Regions from separate parts of the Homo sapiens genome. Here all the other regions are linked to region 1. Evidence: promoter capture Hi-C in human tissues and cell types (Jung and others, 2019). All regions are on one chromosome and are shown on one strand. Each heading gives the region's core, a stretch centred on a gene start or on the middle of the fragment in contact. The rest is flanking DNA. Distances are from core to core; before and after follow the strand shown. Region 1 holds the start of TMC2 (transmembrane channel like 2). Region 2 overlaps EBF4 (EBF family member 4). Region 3 has its middle 34 kb from the start of CPXM1.

Evidence for each region. The method cuts DNA at HindIII sites, captures the fragments that hold promoters and counts their contacts. A contact is called where the count stands out against the background at its distance.
Region 2: a fragment that was not itself captured here is called in contact with the fragment with the promoter of TMC2 in region 1 in 1 of the 25 tissues and cell types used here (H1 embryonic stem cells).
Region 3: a fragment that was not itself captured here is called in contact with the fragment with the promoter of TMC2 in region 1 in 1 of the 25 tissues and cell types used here (liver).

Annotation. Positions count from the first base shown.
Region 1 is chr20:2,534,303-2,538,362 of GRCh38, reverse strand. It overlaps TMC2 (transmembrane channel like 2), which reads right to left and starts at 1,790. Exons shown (of 20, transcript NM_080751.3): 1 at 1,708-1,790; 2 at 1,047-1,094. The coding sequence starts at 1,741. LOC105372504 (a long non-coding RNA gene) reads left to right here. Exons shown (of 3, transcript XR_937204.3): 3 at 3,753-3,835. The HindIII fragment of the contact is 10,824 bases long and covers 1-4,060 here.
Region 2 is chr20:2,731,636-2,735,555 of GRCh38, reverse strand. All of the region lies in intron 6 of EBF4 (EBF family member 4), which reads right to left. Among named protein-coding and RNA genes, the nearest start is that of EBF4, 41 kb to the right of the region's middle. The HindIII fragment of the contact is 4,101 bases long and covers 1-3,510 here.
Region 3 is chr20:2,764,534-2,769,010 of GRCh38, reverse strand. No RefSeq gene overlaps it. Among named protein-coding and RNA genes, the nearest start is that of CPXM1, 34 kb to the left of the region's middle. The HindIII fragment of the contact is 8,792 bases long and covers 1-4,477 here.

The DNA.
Region 1 (4,060 bases), core at 541-3,040:
AGGCAGGTGGGGTAGGAAGAAGGGACAGTGGCTGAGGCAAGTTCCGGGATAGGGGCCAGGAAGGGCTGTTGAGATGCCATGGCTGCACCCCCTGCCAGCCTCTGCCCAGCTCTTCCTTGCCTCCTGCTCCTGGGTCTCTCCCCTTGTAACACAGCGGCCTCACTGAAGCTCAGGCTCCCGACAACCAGACAGCAGCGGGTCACAGGAGCGGAAAGGGCAGATGAAGTGGCTCCTGGGGCCAGCTCCCTACTGGCCAGAGTGGGGCCAGGACAGGGCCCTCCCACAGGAGGGAGTGGAAAGGGCCCTCCCTCCCAGAATGGGGGAGGAAGGAGATCTCTTCCAACCCCCCAGAACCCCATCACTCCCCAAGATTCTGGTTTCTTGCCTACTAGTGTGGGGCGCAGGACCCAGCCCTGCCTGGGACGTGAAGGGGGAGAAAACAGCATCGCATCCATAATATTTTGTGACATGAAGATGCCCAGCCTGTGAGTGTGGCTTCTGCCCCTCTCCCCTGAACCCTCAGTCTCAACCAAGGGTTTTCTCTCCCGCCTATGGCTTCCTTGGGCTCTCCCACTTCTCCTGGAGCAAGTTGGCTCCCTCACCGGCTCACGGGAGAGCTGTGGTCACATTCCCAGTGGGAAGGTGATGGAGCACCCATTATGCCTACTACTTTTTGGAGGTTAAGAGTGTTCCTCCTAGAGTCCGGGGGCCTGGATGTGAATCTGGCCACACCACCCGCCAGAAGCCTGCACCGAGCTTCCCTGCCCTCTGTCTGGTGAATGTTCACTGCTTCCCAAGGCTCAGCTCAGAGTGTCACTAACCCTGGGAGTCTCCCCTGACACCGAGGGCTGAGCAGCACCTTCTCTGAGTGGTACTCTGCCCCCTCCCATGTTAAACACCTTGCCTCCCAGGAAGGCTCCATGCAGGGTGTTGAATGAGAGGGAAGGAGATGAAGGAGAATGTTGGATGGGTGGCTGGACTGTTGGGCTAAGCAGAGGGCACCCAGGCACTGCAGGCTCCCCAGAGACCCCACCACCCCATCTCACCTGTGTGTGGAGAGCCGCTCTTCACCCGCCCTTTCACTCCGCCTCGTGCTGTAAGAGACAGGATTGCTGACAAATGGCTGGCCTCTGGTGAGTCCCCCTCCCTGCAGACCCCCGGTCACTGTGGGACCCCTCAGCTGATTTGTGGCTGCCTCAAACTGGGACCCAGCTCCAATGATTTTACTCAGCAAATTATAGAGTCCCCTGCCTGTCACATTTGTCTGATACTGTCAGTCATGAGGTCAGAACATCCCCCACCCCCTGCCCTGCACAGAGACAGAGACAGATAGAAATCTGCTGAGGGGCTTGCTCGGAACAGGCAACCCTAACCGAGACAATAGGTGGCTGAGACGCCCCAGCAGGCTCTGAGGAGCATGCATCGGCCGTGACAGTCTCCAGTGCTGGCCTGAACACAGGTGCTGTGCACAGGTTGTCTTGAATCCTTCCAGTAGCCCTGCAAGGAGGTGATGACTACCCCCATCTCATGCGTGAGGATCAGAGAGGTTGAATAACCAGCCGAGGTCGCTCAGCGCACAGGGGACAGGCCCTGGACTCAAACCCAGCTCCTCCCTATGCCTCTGAACACCATATGTGCTTCCCCCATCCCCTGCTGCTGCCCAGGAACCCTGTGGGCGGGCCCCGCAGGATCAGGACGTGGACTCACCTTCCTCTTTCAGGCCCTTTACCTGGTGGCTCATGGTCAGCAGCACTGCTGGGGTCCTGCACAGGCTCACGCAGCGTGCTCCTGTATGCACGCCTTCAGCCTGGGCTGCTTTCCTGCCCTCATGGTGGCTGGCCTCCCTTCCTAGACCTGACAGCAGGCGGGGCTTCTTGGTTTGAGATTGAATGTGGAGGTGGGTGAAGTTTGGGGGAGAGAGACGGGTGAAGGAAGGCGACGAGTTCCCGGCCCATCAATCCGGCCACACACTCCTCTTCTCAGGTTTCCCTGCAAAGAGGCAGCATGGCCTCATGTTTCAGGCATCAGTTATACATGAGGGGCCCTGGAGGGGCCAGGAGCTGCAGGCTTATCTCCTGGCAATGATGCCGCTGGCACTCTAGCCAGAGGAGGTGTGAGGAGCATCCCAGGCCCTCTCCCACTATCTTGAGTCCCTGATTGGGACAAAGCACCAGGGAAATTCTAGAATGTTTGTTTAAGTTATTACTTGGGCTTCTGTTTAAAATGCAGATTCTGGCATGTGGTGGTTCACACCTGTAATCTCAGCACTTAGGAAGGCAGAGGCAGGAGGATTGCTTGAGCCCAAGAGCTCAAGACCAGCCTGTGCAACGTAGTGAGACCCCATCTCCACAAAAAGAAAAATAATAATAATAAATTTTTAAAAATAAAATGCATACTCCCAGGAGTGGCACTGGGCGTTGGAATCAGTCAGTCTGTGCCAGGCCCTGGGAGCCTGCACTGTGGATCCTGCTGCAGGCGTCCTGAGCCCACACAGATGAATGTTCCCGCTCAGCCCCCGCCCCCTCCCTCAGCAGCTTTTCCTCCCTGGCTTCAGGGAGGCACAGATTTGGCTGCTTTGAAAACCATCACTAAAGTGTCAGAGGGACCCTCTGGAAGGCAGTCATAAGGTCTCAGAGTGTGGAGTTCTTAATCTGGAGTCCCTGGAACCCCCAGAGCTGTGGATGGAATTCTGTGGGTTTGTGAATAGTGATGGAGAAAATACTACACTTTCACTTTTCCTAGCCTTAACTGCGATTTAGCATTTCCCTCAATCATGAATGTAAGCAAAGATGTGATTTTTGTCTCAGCAAAAGTCACAGTTATTTTTTTTCCCAATTAAACCACTGGGGATGTCTCAAAATATCTTACATGTTATCACAACTTCAAAATTATGATAGTTAGAGACCTGCCATGAAATCTTGTTATTTAATTAGGAAGCATATATTGTCATTATATGAAAGATATTTAAAGTGATTTTGATGCCTATTTCAGGATCATTGGTCTCCTTTGTAATCCTAGTGTTTTATTTTATGGATTTAATGTCTATGTTCTGAAAAGCGGTCTGTGGCTGGGCGTGGTGGTTCACGCCTGTAATCCCAGAATTTTGGGAGGCCAAGGCAGACGGATCACCTAGGGTTGGGAGTTCCGGACCAGTCTGGCCAACATGGTGAAACCCCATCTCTACTAAAAATGCAAAAATTAGCCGGGCGTGGTGGGATGTGTCTGTAGTCCCAGCTACTCAGGAGGCTGAGGCAGAATTGCTTGACCCAGGAGGTGGAGGTTGCAGTGAGCTGAGATTGCACCACTGCACTCCCTGGGTGATAGAGTGAGACTCTGTCTCAAAAATAAAAAAAAATATAAAAAGGGGTCTACGGACCTTACCAGGATGCCAAAGGATTCTATGACACAACAGAATAAAAAGCCTTCCCCAGGGCAAGTCTCCTGTGGGTGTCAAGGACAGACCTAGCCTCTGATCATGCCCATGTACTTTCTCAGGGGTCAGGAGTAGGAGTGCCTGTCCTCATGCAAGCTTGGCGAGGGAAGGGGCAAAGGAGCTACCTCTAAAATGCACGTGCAACGGTTCATCTCAAGCTTTGAAGCTTTTCTCTTTGTCCCACACCTTGATCTCCGACCCAACTGGTTCCTGCAGGGCCGCCCCAGTCCCCGGGGCATGAGGGCAGTGGGAGGATCTCAGTTGCATTCTCTGGCATCCATACTGCAGGACTGCAGCCGCAAATCCCTCTCCCCACCAGGGCCATGCCAGTGCAGGACCCCGGTCCATGTGAGAAGCAGCACGGGCAGCTGTGCAGCCACAGGACAGCGTGGCCCAGAGGACTGGTGAGTAAGGTTTCTGCTGGGGGTGCCCCAAGCGCTCTCCCCTGATGAGTGAGGACCCCCAGCAGCCCTTTACCCTGCTCTTTTTTTTTTTTTTTTTTTTTTTTGAGACAGCGTCTGGCTCTGTCGCCCAGGCTGGAGTGCAGTGGCGCGATCTCGGCTCACTGCAAGCTCCGCCTCCTGCCTTTACCCTGCTCTTGTTGTTCTCTGTTGCCAGAGGAGAAAG
Region 2 (3,920 bases), core at 211-2,710, 200 kb before region 1:
TGAAAATCCATTCTTCCATAAAGAAACAAGAACACTGGCAAACATGGTCAAAATCAACTTTCTCAGAACTCTAAAAATTAACAACATGTGTGCAACAACTCAAGGAACATTGAGGCAAGAAAAATGGCTGAGTTGTAATAAGAACAGAAAGCTTTGTGGTGTTTTAATTTGCCCTATTCCCATCCCCTACTCCCCAGCCCTGTTGAAGACCAGCTACCTTGCAACCACTATTGTAGTTGTGAAAACTAGCAAGCTAGCAACCATAGGAAGGGGTAGAGTGGGTTTGGAGCCTCTCAACAAGCTGTATTCCCAGTCAGTTTTCACTCTTTAACCTTTCTAGCAACTCCCTGACAGCTTTATTTGCAGAACTTGTTATTTGACCCGATTCAGAACTTACTTAGTGGGAAAGACCCTATCTTCAGGGTGTTTGTTGAAAACAGCCAGCGGCAATTGCTTAACATTGCAGCTACATGAGGCAGCAATACAAGTTGGGGGCAAATAAAAGTTTGGCCATAATATTTTAAAGGAAAAAGTGGGGAATAAGATGTTCACAGGGGCTCTGAAAAGCTCTGACATATTCCTGGAGATCTAGAAAGCTATGCATATGTGCAGGGAGAGGCACATGCCCAAAAAAGGCATGGAAAGCCCCTGGTCTCTCACCTCTGGTTTATCCCAAGGCCCTGAGCAAGCAGGAAGTGAAGGTCAAGGCAGAGTTGTAAATCGCTGGAGCACTGAAGGCATGTCTTAACACACATACAGAACCTTTTGGCAATGGGTTGAACACTTATTGGCATTCAAGGCATTTAAAGAAATGCCTGTCCAATCATGGCCTGATAACTAAGCCAAGAGCAGAAACTTCAGTGATTATACATGACAGGAAATATAGACTTTATATAATTAGTCCAAGAAAATCACTAAACAAACAAACAGCAATAGCAATAAGAACAAAATTGGGAGGGAGGATCTGATTGCCAGAGTGCAACATTATATGATTAAAATGTCCAGTTTTCAACAAACAATTATGAGACATGCAAGGTACAGGAAAGTAAGACCCATACATTGTAATAAAGCAGCCAACAGGAACTATCCCTGAGGAAGCCCAGAGGTTAGAATTTTTAGACAAATACTTTATTAATTAATTTATTTTTGGAACAGGGTCTTGCTCTGTTGCCCAGGCTGAAGTGCAGTGGTGTGATCATGGCTCACTGAAGCCTTGACCTCCCAGGTTCAAGTGATCCTCCCACCTTAGTTCCCAAGTAGCTGGGACTACAGGTATGAGCCACCATGCCCAGCTAATTTTTGTAGGTTTTTGTAGAGACAGGGTTTCACCATGTTGCCCAGGCTGGTCTCAAACTCCTAGGCTCAAGCAATCTGCCCTTCTCTGCCTACCAAAATGCTGGGATTATAGGAGTGAGCCACTGCAGCTGGCATAGATAAAGACTTTAAATGAGCAATTATAAATATGTTCATAGAACTAAAGGAAACTATGTCTAAAAAATTCAAGAAAAGTATGAGAATGAAGTCACACCAAAAAAATCAATAAAGGATTTCAAATTATATTTTTAAAAACCCATGAAATTCTGAAGTAGAAAAGAACAATAAGTAAAATTTAAAAATACCTGGAACAAGCTTCTCTAACCTGCGACCCACGGGGCACATGCAGCCCAGGTTGGCTTTGAATTAGCCTGCAAATTTGTAAACTTTCTTATTATGAGATGTTTTTGCTTTTTTTTTTTTTTTCTCATCAGCTATCGCTAGTATTAATGTATTTTATGTGTGGCTCAAGACAAGTCTTCTTCCAATATGGCCCACGGAAGCCAAAAGATTGGACACCCCTGACCTAGAGGAACTCAACAACATATCTCATTTGGTGGGACGAAAAAAAATCAGTATACTTGAATATAGGCCAATTGAGATTATCTAGCTCAGAAGCAGAAAGAAAAAAGAATGAAGAAAAATGAACAGAGCTTAAGAGACCTGTGGGAGCCATCAAGCATACCAGTATATGTATAATGGGAATCTGAGAAGGAGAGTAGAGATGGAACAGGACAGAAAAATATTCAAGAAAATGCCCCTAAATTTCCTAAATGTGCTCAGTAATGAAAAACATTATTGAGCACATCTTAAGAAGCTCAGTAAACTCCAAGTAGTATGAACACAAAGTGTATGATCTATACAAAGACACATCATACTCAAACTTTTGAAAGCCAAAGAAAAAGAAAGGATCTGAGAAGCAATGAGAGAGAGAGAGAAGTAACTCGTCATATATAAGGAATCCTTAATAAGATCACCACATAACTTCTGAAACCATGAAGGACAGAAGGCAGTGAGATGATATATTGTGTTAAAAGAAAACAACTATCGACCAAAAAATTGCATGTCCAGCAAAACTATCAACTTCTAAAATGATCAACTTCAAAAATGAAGGAGAAATTGAGACATTTTCAGATAAACAAAAACTGAGAGGATTCATCACTAACAGGTTTGTCCTACAAGAAATACTAAAGGGAGTCCTTCAGTCTGAAATGAAACAAGACAAGACAGTAATATGAATTAACATGAACAGATAAAGAGCACTGGTAAAAGTCACTACATAGGTAAACATAAAAGACAGCATAAATGTATTTTTGTTTGTAATGATTTTGTTTTCCTATCTAATTTAAAAGACAACTGCACATTTGTGGGGATAGGGGATATATGGGAACTCTTTATAATTCCGTCTCAAAAAAAAATAAGAAAAAGAAAAAATAAAAGAAAAAGAAAACACAAAGCACAATGGCAGACATAAATCCTGTTCTATCAGCAATTACATTAAATATAAATGGATGAAATGCTTCATTAAAAGGAAGAGATTGGCAGAATGGATTAAAAAAGAAAACTACAACACAATCCAACTATATGCTGTCTATGTGAGACATACTTTAAATTCAAATGTACAAAAGGCTTTGAAAATAAAGGGATGGAAAAAGAGATAACATGTGAACCCTAACTGAAAGATAGCTGGAGTGGCTATACTAATTTATGAATAGACACTAAGATAAAAATTATGAGAGACAAAGAAGGACATGTTATAATGATAAAAGTGTCTATCATCAGAAAGAAATAACAATTATAAGCATGTGTATCTAATAACAGTCCGGGTGTGGTGGCTCATGCCCATAACCCCCGCATGTTGGGAGGCTGAGGCAGGCAGATTGCTTGAATCCAGGAGCTCAAGACCAGCCCAGGCAACATGGTGAAACCCCGTCTCAACTAAAAATACAAAAAATTAACTGGGTGTGGTGGCATGCACCTGTAGTCCCAGCTACTCAGGGGGCTGAGGTGGCAGAATCAGCTGAGCTTGGGAGGTTGAGGCTGTAGTGAGCCCTAAGGCTGTAGTGAGTTGAGACTGCATCACTGCACTCTAGCCTGGTCAACTGGAGTGAGACCCTGTCTCAAAAGAAAAAAAAAAAAAGCACATGTATCTAATAACAGCTCCAAAATGCATGAAGCAAAAACTAACAGAATTGAAGGAACAAACAATAATAACTGGCAACTTCAATACCCTACTAGCAAGAATGCATAGAACTATTAAGTTTGACTGGGGCCCAACCTAGCATGCAACTGATAAAGAAACTCACATTCTGTGTGTTGAAGCTCTGCACACACAATGTGAAGTGGCAAGTGAAAGGTGAGGTACTCCTGGCTTTAGCTCTATTCCTAAGAATTCACGTTCACATCCCAGAAGCACAAGGCCCATCAAGTCACAGGCAGATGGAGGCCTGGATTCTGTGCCAGTTCCCTGTTCTAAAAGGAATACCATAGATTACAGGGGTTTGCTTAAGAGAGAGAGGCATCTGGTACCCACGGACAGAGAAAAACTTGGTTTGTTCGTAGGAAGAAGGACAGTAGAAGTGGCCAGACAGATGTCCGCAGCAGAG
Region 3 (4,477 bases), core at 130-2,629, 230 kb before region 1:
AGTGCCACTGTACTCCAACCTGGGCAACAGAACAAGACCCTGTCTCAAAAAAAAAAAAATTAAACTCTGGCTCTAACAGCAACGTAGCCCCATCCCACCGGGCTGTGTTAAGGGAAGAAGAGGTCTTGCCAGAGCTCTTTCTCCTCCCCTGGCAGCTCCTGCTTTATGCCCACACCCACACAGGCACACACTCCTCCCCGCACCCCCTCCCCACCATGTCTTCTCCTGCACAGCTGCTTCCCAGAGGAAGTGGGTTGAGGAATTCTGTCAACCTTCACACTTGATGATAGCCTTTTACACTTTCAGTTGAGACCAAAAGAGATGCTGCCCCGTCCTCACTCAACAAGGGACAGAGAGATGCCCAGAAGTCTCTCGGTACCTGCTCCTGGCCCCACCTGACTCTGTAGGGCTCTGTGTTGTGGAACCTGCAGGGGCACCATGGACAGACCTGCCAGGTTTGGGCCTGCTCAGCCACTCGACCACATTCCACCGGCAGCCACAGTTTGTCTTGGCAAGGTCAGCCTCCAGGCCCAGCTCCAGGAAGGCCCTGGGGAGCAGCCCAGACAAACCAGCTTTCACCACAGAAGCCAGCGCTGGCTGGGCTTGAGGCAGTGCCAGCCTGAGAGTGGCTGGAGCCTCCCCCACCCACCTAAAGGTGAACTCAGTTCTGGGTGAGCGGGTGGGTGCGTGGAGGGGGCAGGCTCCTACATGGGTGGAACCCCCAGAGAGGCAGCAGGGGCAGGAGCCAAGCCAGAGGGTTTTTCTGCCCTACACGAATCAGCCCTTCAGGAACTGGACTCATGGGATGACTGCCCGGAGCTGCGGCAGCCTAGCCCGAGCCTCCTCCTCACACCCCACCAGATGAGGGTGCATCAGGGCAGCGCTCGCTCCCAGGCTGGCAGGGGAGGGGCAGGAGAGGCTTTGGAGAATGAAGATGCTGGGATGCTGAGCCCCAGGGAACAGCAAATCTGCTACTGGACGGCCAGCTTTCCTTCCCCCATAAACACTTGGCGCCTTCTCTCTCAAGGAATAAAATACTCAAAAAGGAATGTATACAAATAAAACCGTCTTGTTGCTGTTCCTGCCCTGCTAGGCAGCCTCTCCTGCATCTTTAGAGCCATGAATTCTCTTCCGTTCTGTCTCCAGTGGGGGTCTCTGAGACCCTCCTACCCATTCTGCTTGGCAGTCTCTGCAGCTTCAAACCCAGGACCTCCCACCCTCCTGAGGCTGCCACTCTGTGACCCCCTGCCAAGGTGAGGCAAGGAGGGAAGCTTTGAGTATCTTCACCTTTGGAAGTGAGTGGTCAGGGGCTCCTGAACAGAGGACTCACGAGGACTGTTCTGGATTTCCAACAGAGGGGACCCAGAGCTAAGGAGCCCAGCTGGGTTTGAATCTTAATGGTTAGAATAGAATGGTAAAAGATGGGTTAGAGTCAAAGTAGAATGACTTAGTGAGAGATTAATTTGTGTTTGTTCTTGTGTTTTTCCCTCCACTGCTCCTAGAAGGTAGCCAAAGCCAGTGTAGCAGTGTGAGGTACCGAGGTGGTCTGCAGAAAGCCTAGCTCCTCCAGGAGAAGCGGGTAAGGGCGAGGGCCAGTGAGTGCCTTCTTAGAGAGTAGTGCAGAGAGAGAAAGAGAAAATGGGCTCTGTGTTAATAATTGGTATACCCTGTATAAAGAATAAGGCCAGGCATGGTGGCTCATGCCTGTAATCCCAGCACTTTCGGAGGCCAAGGAGAGCAGATCACTTGAGGTCAGGGGTTCCAGACCAGCCTGGCCAACATGGTGAAAGCTCATCTGTACTAAAAATACAAAAATTAGCCAGGCATGGTGGTGTGAGCCTGTAATCCCAGCTACTTAGGAGGCTGAGGCGAGAGAATCACTTGAACCAGGGAGGGGAGGTTGCAGTGAGCTGAGATCGTGCCATTGCACTCAAAAAAAAAAAAAAAAGAATATATGGCCATTTACAATTAAACATACAATTAGCTAAAGCAGTGGCTTAAAATTAGACATGTAATTAATATAATTCAGCACATTAACGAAATAATGGAGAAAGTAATTTGATTACTTAATACATGAAGAAAAATATTTCACAAATTTTGGCATCTATTTATAATTTTTAAACATTTTTAGAAAATTAGGAATAGAAGGATATCTATAAACCAAATACGATGCTTAATGATGGAATATTAAAAGTTTGCCCTCCAGAATCAGGAGCAAAACAAAGATGTCCACTCTCACTACTTCTATTCAACATTGTATTGGAGGTTGCAGCCAGTGCATTTAAGCAAGAAAAATAAGTAAAAATAAAAAAGTAAGGACTGCAAGTGAAGAAATGAAACTGTCCTTTTTTTGCAGATGACATAACTATGTAGCTAAGAAAATTCAAGATAATCTAAGGATAAGTGGCTAAGCAAGATTGCTGGATACAAGGTAATTATACAAAAATCCATTGTTTCTATATATTCACAACAAATAAAATTAAGAAAATGATACTATTTATAATATCACAAAATAATCAAATAGAAATAAATGAAATAGGTGCAAAACTTTCATACAGAAGTCTATAAAACATTATTAAGAGAAGTCTTAAAAGATCTAAATAAATGGAGGGATATACAATATTCATAGATTGAAACACACAATATTTTAAAGACATCAATTCTCCATTAATTAGTCTGTAAATTTAATGTAATCCCAATGAAAATCCAGCAGGTTTTTTTGTGTTTTTTTTTGGGAGATGGAGTCTTGCTCTGTTGCCCAGGCTATAGTGCAGTGGTGTGATCTTGGCTCACTGCAACCTCTGCCTCTAGGGTTCAAGAAATTCTCCTGCCTCAGCCTCCTGAGTAGCTGGGACTACAGGCGCATGCCACCATGCCTGGCTAATTTTTTGCATTTTAGTAGAGATGGGGTTTCACTGTGTTGCCCAGGCTGGTCTTGAACTCCTGAGCTCAGGCAATCTGCCTGCCAGTTTAAAAAATAGAAATTAATAAACTGAGTATAAAATTTGTATTGAAATGAAAAGGACCACATGTAGCCAACATAATTGTGAAGAACTAAGTTGAACAGGCCGGGTGTAGTGGTTCAAGCCTGTAATACGAGCACTTTGGGAGGCTAAGGCAGGAGGATCACTTCAGGCCAGAAGTTCAAGACCAGCCTGGGTAACATAGTGAGGCCCTATTTCTATAAAAAAATAAAAATAAAAATAAAAAAATTTGAAAGGAAGAATTAAATTGGATGACTTGCCATACATACTACATAGCAAAACATACTATAAATCTAAAGTTATTAAGATAATGTGGCACGGGTATAAGGCTAGATAAAAAGACAAATGGATCAGAATAGAGAATCCAGGACAGACACATACATATATGAACATTTGATTTATAACAAAGATTTCACTTCAATGAAGTGGGGGAAAATATACTCATTTCAGTAAATGGTGCTGGGCCAATTGGCTAACCATATGAAAAAAAATTAAATTTGATCTCTAGCTTACACTGTACACAAAAATAAATTTTAGTTGGATTGTGGACCTAAATATAAAAGCCACAAACAAGAAAAATTCTAAAATATCTTCTTGACTTTGGTGTAAGTGAAGATTTTAAAATTTATTTTATTTTAATTTCATTTAATTAATCAATTAATTTTTTTGAGATGGGGTCTCATTCTGTTGCCCAGGCTATGGCGTGATCTCAGCTTACTGCAACCTCTGCCTCCTGGGTTCAAGTGATTCTCTTGCCTCAGCCTCCTGAGTAGCTGGGACTACGGGCATGCGCCACCATGCCCGACTAATTTTTGTATTTTTAGCAGAGACGGGGTAGACGGGGTTTCATTATGTTGGCCAGGCTGGTCTTGAACTCCTGACCTCAGGTGATCCGCCCACCTTGGCCTCCCAGAGTGCTAGGATTACAGGTGTGAGCCACCGCACCTGGCAGAAGATTTGTTTAAAAGCACACAAAAGGGGAGGTGAAGCGTGAAGCAAAATAATACATAAATTAAAAGCATACGAGAAACGCTAATCATAAAGAAAAGATTAATAACTTAGACTACATTCAATTAAGACATTCTGGTTATCAAAAATCTAATGGCCGGGTGTGTGGCTCACAACTATAATCCCAGCACTTTGGGAGGCTGAGGCAGGTGGATTATTTGAGCCCAGGAGTTTGAGACCAACCTGGGCAACATGGAGAAACTTGTCTCTACAAAACACACACCCAAAAATTAGCCTAGCGTGGTGGTACGTGACTGTGGTCCCAGCTACTCTGGGGGCTGAAGCGGGAGGATCACTTGAGCCAGGAGGCTGAGGCTGCAGTGAGCTGTGATTGTGCCACTGCGCTCCAGCCTAGGTGACAGAGCAAGACCCTGTCTCAAAAAAAAAAAAAAAAAAAAAGAAAAGAAAAGAAAAAGAAAATCTCATAATGAAGGCAGGCGTGGTGGCTTACGCCTGTAATACCAGCACTGTGGGAGTCTGAGGCA